Linked DNA regions of Homo sapiens: region 2 is linked to region 1. Evidence: promoter capture Hi-C in human tissues and cell types (Jung and others, 2019). All regions are on one chromosome and are shown on one strand. The core of a region is centred on a gene start or on the middle of the fragment in contact, and the rest is flanking DNA. Distances in the headings are between cores, read along the strand shown. Region 1 holds the start of PATE3 (prostate and testis expressed 3). Region 2 has its middle 8.0 kb from the start of PATE1.

Region 1 (3,797 bases), core at 768-3,267:
ACTCTTCTCAGCCTTTGGTAACCACCACTCTAGTCTCTACCTCCATGACATTAACTTATTCTTTAGCTCCTATACATGATTAAGAACATGGGATATTTGTCTTTCTGGGCCTGGCTTATTTCATTTAATATAATGACCTCCAGGCTCACCTCTGTTTCTGCAAAGGACAGAATTTCATTTATTTTTATGGTTGAATAATATTCTATTGTGTGTATATACCATATTTTCTTTATTGTATATTTCAAAATAGCTAGAAGAGAACATATAGAATGTTCTCAATACAAAGAAATGATAAATGTTTGAGGTGATGAATATCCAGTTACCCTGATTTGATCATTACACATTGAAGGCTTGTATGAAAAATCACATATACTCATAAATATGAACAATTGTTATGTGTCGATTATCAAAAAAAAATCTGTTTGGTCAGTTTTCTTGGAAATATAGAATCCCCAAGTTCTCCCTCCTGTCTCATTGACCCAAATTATCTTCTGTCTGTATGCACAGGGACCTGTGCTACCACCTGTGCTCAGGGGCATTCTGCATTGGTTCTTCTCTTGAGATGTGAAATTGCTGAAGCACTATCCTAAGAATTCTAAGAATCTTACAACACCTTCCCTGACCCTCTAACTTACGCTGGTAAATCCTTAAGAGCATGCATGCCTCGCCCTTCTGAGCAGTACAGACACCAAAGCCTCTTCTACAGCGGTCTGTCCGTGTGCGAAGGTGGCATGTTATGCACTGAAGTGATGTCACTGCTGGAGAGAGCATAGAGATGGTGTGAGACTAGGCAAAAGCAGGGACTTGGGATGGAGTTAGAAATATTCAGATGGAGGTGGGGAATGAATAGTGGAGGGGGCAGGCAGATGAAGAGCTACTGGTTGGGGTATTTAGGCGGTAAACAGTTGGAGCTCTTATCAACTCCTCATTTCAGAGTAATAAAAAGAAAATGTCACCAAAGGATTCTGACCCCACCTTCAGCCCTTTTAACCTGGATAACTTTAAGCAAAAAGTTAGCCTCCATGTCATTGACTTCTCTAGCTTAAAAATGGTGCTATGAATGCTAGCCTGGCCTACTAGAGATATGGGTGTGATAAGGAGGGTGAGGGCTTTAAAACATTTCACCAAAGCTATTGTTACTATTGTTAGGTGATATATTCTGTTCTTTTGAGCTTCAATCTGAATCTACATAAAGGCATCATCAATAATAGTACCATAAGTGACACTTTTATGAGGTTCTGCGGGGTGAGCTATTCAAAATACAGGTTTAATTTAAAAAAATTTCCCTAGTGCACCTGAATGAGAAAGGAAAGTAGCAATGATTGAGCATCCCATTTGGGCCATGTTCTCTCAAGTTGCATCCGATTTAATCCTCGCAAAAGCCTTGTAAGCAGGCACCATTGTCCCCATTTCTTGAATGAGCAACCAAAGGTACAGAGATTTTGAGACCGTGACTACAAACCATGAAAAAAATCTGTCTGATTCCAGAGCATTCAGTACTTCCTCTCATAGAATTACTTGTTGTAATATAAAGTCTCTGAAAAGGGTATCAAAAGCCATTGTTCACTCCTAAAATAAACTGAAAATTATTCATTATAGACTGACCAGCTCCATCAACAAATGGGATATAGGTTTACAAATAAAAAGGATGTCCTAAGGAAAATCTTGCCAGGGCTTGGGATTATGGGGAATGGTAGGGACAGAGGGAGAAAATGAGTTAAAAGGGCAGGACAGAGGCCTGCCCATCTGGAGGAGAATGGCAGGAGGCTGAAAAGGATGGAAGAGTTGTCAGGGAAGGCAGAGGAGCATTCTGGAGGCTGGCTTCCCCTGGCTCATAAAAGTGGCCAAAGCTCAGCCCTGCATGGATGCATGCTACACATGTAGTTTCCCTGGAGCTCCCTAGATCCTGTCTCTCAAGTATACCCCTCAGGTCCAGGACTCACCCACAATGAGGCAGTAAAGGAGGAAGAGGAACAAGAAGTGTTTGTTCATCCTGACCCGGAAATCCCTTGTGCAGGAAAAAGAAGCTAGGGGCTGCAAGCACAGGTCTTTAGGCTCCAGAGAGAAAACTTTCTTCTTCGTCAGAGGCTAGTGATTATTCATGCCTAGGGAGAGCCTGTCACACAAGGTTTCCTCTTGGAGCTCAAGTTCATTGGCTGTCCTCCTCAAGGCAGAGAAAAAAGAAAATTAATAAATGTTGAGGTTTGCATGGAGCTAACCTTTTTAAAAACATATACTTTTGATATTATTATTCTTATCCCAATTTCAAGAGGAGGAAACTGAGGCTTGTTGAGGTTCCAGAAGCTTACCCCAGGTCACATATCCAGTGAGATAGTGCTGTTACTCAAAGTATGACTTCCTAATTCTAGAGTCCACGTTTCACCACCGTGATTCAATGCCTCTCTGAGATTTATTCATACATTCAACAAATATTTGTTGAGAAATTGTATATACAACACAGTTACATGAGTAAGACCAAGCAATGAATAAGGCAGACAAGCTCACCTGGCTCCTCACATTATGGGTAAGAAACCAGAGAGTGAGAGAGGAAAAGATATATAGTCTGTGACCAAGCTTGACCTTCCACTAGAACGTTTGATTCTCAGTCGAGAACTCTTCTACTTACAAGAAATCTGTCCTTCAAGGCCAGCGACTGTTTACTTTGTAGAGCCATTAAATCCTCTCTAGAATTATTCCATGACTTGATCTTTAGCAAATTTATATTTTGAATCTGGCTAGTTTTTTGTTCATGATTTAGATGTCTATCTTTATGAAAGCTAACTCAGTTAAGATTCACTATGGGTAAAGTACTAGAAAACCATGACCACTCCTGGCATTCTAAGTCTCCTAAACCACCAGCCCAATGGCTGATGGTGCTTGGTTAGAGATACTAGAAGTATTCCATATTAAACTGATTTAACAACATGTTCTTTAGTTGTAGGAATGATATGATCATTGAAATATATTGAGTCTGACATTTTTTAGACATCAGATGAAGATTGGGTAAAATATGATCTTATGTTAAGTGTCACAAAATTTACAATGTTTCTTCTCTATGAACAAACAGAATACGGAGCCCACCTTTGCCTAAGAAGAGAGCAAGAAGTCTTAGACACTTACACATGAGGGAGCTGGTTCCTTTGAAATAATAGATTCCAGAATGGAGAGTAAGGTTGTGAGGCCTTTGGATCTAGTTTTCTACTCTGCCATATTTTAGAAGAGGGTGTTGAACACTGGATAGCATTTTTGAGAACATTCCCAGGCTTATCAAGAAGACAAACTTCTGAGCCTTTGCAGCCTGGACTTACCAAGTTATTAGGGTATTTCATTTGTCACTTGTTTCCTCTGCTTTATCCTCTATTTAAAAATTACCTGCTGGGTATAATGTTCACTCTTCAGGTGATGGGTGCACTAGATGCCCAAACTTTACCATTTGACTATCTGTCCACATAATAAGCCTATGTATGCACTCCCTGAATCTATAAAAATAAATATAAAACATAAGAAAATAGAGAGAGGGAGCAGCACTAGAATCAGAGCAAAAGAAGCAGACATTCTAGGTTAAACTGTGGTGGAGTTTTTTTCTTCTTCCTTCAAGGTTCTCCTTGGCAGATGCCTTCTGAAAGGCCAATTGTGTTTTGAATCTCCATTGTACTGATTATTTCCAGTTAAGATTGTAGAATTTTGCAACTCTACCCAAATGTTGGAGTCCTCTGACCTACTTCTCAGCCTCCCACAGTACCTCATCCATCACATTTTCTCTTGAAAATAATTTCTTTCTTCATTTATCATGGGGT
Region 2 (3,564 bases), core at 212-2,711, 50 kb after region 1:
AGTGTCCCAGCCACTGACACCTCTAACTTATCATATATCTTTTAATTTTGTGCTTCTTTCCATTGAGAAATATCAAATACATACGAAGTACACAAAACATACGTAAATTTAAAAAACTATAAATAACATTTATGCAGTACTTACTAAGTCCACTGTTATGTCTTTATTTTTATTTTTTGCTTAACATTTTTTTTTTTTAGTACATGTCAGAAAAGTTTTATTATTCTTGAGTGTAATATCAAGAAACAAGCGTTTGCAATTTTATACACAACTATTTCTAGTTACCTGTTCCTTATTTATGTGAAGTTGAAAACATAGTGTAATTTTTAATATTCTCTCTTCCTTCTCCTTCCTCACACTAATGTTTTATTAATATTATTTTAAATTGATGAATCATAATTGTATACATTTGTGGGGTTCAGTGTGATGTTTTGAAATATATATACAATGTGGGGTGATCAAATCAAGCTAATTAACATCACCTTGCTTATTATTTTCTATAGCGAGACATTTGAGATTTACTCTCTTAGCTATTTTGAAATGTACAAAATATTATTGTTGAATATAGTCACCTTGCTGTGCAATAGATCTCAAAACTTATTCCTCCTATTTACTTGAAACTTTGTACCCTTTAATCAACAACTCCCCATTCCTTTCCTCCTCAGCATGCCAGCCTCTGGTAACTATCATTCTACTCTCCACTTCTACTAATTCAACTTTTTAAGATTTCACATATAATTGAGATCATGTGGTATTTGTTTTTCTGTGCCTGGCTTCCTTCATTTAGCATAACATCCTTCAAATACATTCATGTTGTCACAAATGGTAGAATTTTCTTCTTTTTTTTAAGGCTGAAGGGTATTCCATTGTGTGTGTATGTGTGTGTGCATGTGCCTCACGGTTTCTTTGTCCATTCACCTTTCAATGGACAGTTATGTTGATTTGATAGTTCATCTACTGTGAATAATGCTGCAATAAACATGAAAGTGCAGATATCTCTTTGAGAAACTGATTTCATTTCCTTTGAATATGTACCCAAAAGAGGGATTTCTGGAACATATGGTAGTTCTATTTTAATTTTGTGAGTAACCTCCATAGTGTTTTCCATTATGAGCATACTAATTTATATTCCCACTAACAGTGCACAAGTGTTCCCATTTCTCCACATCCTCCCCAAAACTTACCTTTTGTCTTTTTGATAATAGCAATTCTAATAAAAGTGTGAGGTTATATCTCATTGTTGTTTTGATTGGCGTTTCCCTGATGGTTACTGATGCTGAGCATTTTTTCATAACTTTCTGGTTATTCGTATATCTTCTTTTGAGAAATACCAATTCTGCTCTTTTGCTCATTTTTAATTAGGTTGTTTGTTTTCTTGCTATTGAGTTGAGTTCCTTGTAAACTTTGGATGTTAACTCCTTGTCAGGTATAAATGTTTTATAAATATTTTCTCCCATTTTGTAGATTGTCTCATTACTCTGCTGTTTCCTAGCAGTAAAGAAGCATTTTCATTTGGTGCAATCTCATTTGTCTATTTTTATTGCCTGTACTTTTAGGATCATACACAAAATTAATTGCCCAGACCAGTGTCAAGAAGATTTTTTCCTCTGATTTCTTCTGGTAATTTTACAGTTTTAGGTCTTATGATTAAGTCTTTACTGAATTTTGAGTTTTAAAAAAAATATATAGTGTAAGAAAGGGTTCAATTTATGCTTCTGCATGTGAATATCTGGTTCTCCCAACACCATTTATTGAAGAGACTGTCCTTTCCCTGTTTTGTGTTCTTGGCATCTATGTCAAAGATCAATTGACTATAAATGCATGAATTTATTTCTGGTCTCTCTACTCTGTTTCATCAATTTAAATGTCTGTTTTTATGGCAATAATGTGCTGTTTTGATTACTATTACTTTGATTTTTTGGGCTTCATGGATCTGAATGTTCATTTTCCTCTTCGAATTTGGGACATTTTCTGTCATTGTTTATTTAAATAAGCTTTCTGCTCATTTCTTTTTTTCCATTCCTCTGGAATTCCTATAATATCAGTTTACTTGGTGGCATCCCATAAGTCCCATAGGATTTCTAAACTTTTTTTCATTCTTTTTTCTTTTTGTTTCTCTGACTAGGTAATATCAAATAACCTGTCTTTAAGCTTACTGATTCTTCTGCTGGATTGATTCTGCTGTTAAAGCTTTCTGTGAAAATTTGTAATGCTGTAATTCTGTTTTTAGCTCTAGAATGTATTTGGTTCTTTTTTTTAGGGGTTTCTATCTCTTTGTTGAACTCCTAATTTTGTTCATGTATTATTTTTCTGATTCTATTTAGTATCTATTTTTGTCCTGTTGTCACTCATTGAGTTTCTTTAAGATAATTAGTTTGAATTCTTTGGCAGTTCGTAGATCCCTTTTTCTTTAGGCTCAGTTACTGATATTTTATTTTATTGTTTTGTTTTGGTAGTGTCATGTTTCCTTGATTATTCATAATCCATTTGGCCATATGTTGAAATCTGAACGTTTGAAGAAGTAAGCACCTATTCTAGTTTTTACAGACTGATTTTGACAGGGAAAGCCCTTTATCAGTTAGCCTTTCCAGAGATTCTAGGCAGGCTTTCTAGCAGGATTTGTGGGGGCAGGCTTGCTATTGAAGTCCTTGAAAAGGCTCTCCTGGACCTAAATGTTTTTTCCCATTCTGTGACTTGTTTTCTATTTTCTCGATAGTGCCTTTTGAAGTATAATACTAAAGTTTTTTATTTTGATGAAGTGTATTTTATCTATTTTTTGTTATTACTGTTGCTATGCTTTCAGGGTCATAACTAAGGCCATTATCTAATCCAGTGCCATGAATATTTATGCCTATATTTTCTTCTAGTAATGTTATAGTTACAGTTCTTAGATTTAGGCCTTTGATCCACTTTAACTTAATTTTGTGTATAGTGTAAAGCAGGAGTCCAACTTTATTCCTTCCCATGTGCATATCCAGTTTCCCTCGCATCATTTGTTAAAAAGACTATTTTCCCTATTGAATGGTCTTAACACCGTTTTCAAAAGTCAATTGACTATAATATAAAGATTTATTTTTAGACTCTCAATTCTATTCCATTGATCTAAAAGTCTATTCATATGCTAGCACCACACTATTTTTGTTACTATATGTAGCTTTGTACTATATTTTTAAATTGGAAAAGGGTATGTCCTTCAAATTTGCTCTCCTTTTGACAGATTGTTTTGGGTATTCTAGGCCCTTGCATTTCCATATGATTTTTAGTATCAGTTTGTCAATTTTTGCAAAAATAAAAACTGAGGTTTTGATAGGGATTGCACTGAATCTCAAGATTGCTTTGGGGAATATTGCCATGTTAACAATGCTAAGTCTTCCAATCCATGAACAAAGAATTTATTTACATTTATTTCTGTCTGTTTTAATTTCTTTCAGTGACTTGTAGCTTTCAGTGTAAAAGTCTTGTACTTCTGTTAACATTATTCATAACTATTTTATTCTTTTTGATGCTTATTAATTGGATATTTCTTTAAAAATTTATTCTCAGATTGTTCATTGCTAGTGTATA

What was found. Contacts are between HindIII fragments. The study calls those that stand out against the background at their distance.
Region 2: a fragment that was not itself captured here is called in contact with the fragment with the promoter of PATE3 in region 1 in 2 of the 25 tissues and cell types used here (mesenchymal stem cells and mesendoderm cells).

Annotation. Positions count from the first base shown.
Region 1 is chr11:125,786,347-125,790,143 of GRCh38, reverse strand. PATE3 (prostate and testis expressed 3) reads right to left here and starts at 2,017. Exons shown (of 3, transcript NM_001129883.4): 1 at 1,944-2,017; 2 at 636-758. The coding sequence starts at 1,992. The HindIII fragment of the contact is 11,927 bases long and covers 1-3,797 here.
Region 2 is chr11:125,736,450-125,740,013 of GRCh38, reverse strand. No RefSeq gene overlaps it. Among named protein-coding and RNA genes, the nearest start is that of PATE1, 8.0 kb to the left of the region's middle. The HindIII fragment of the contact is 3,360 bases long and covers 1-3,141 here.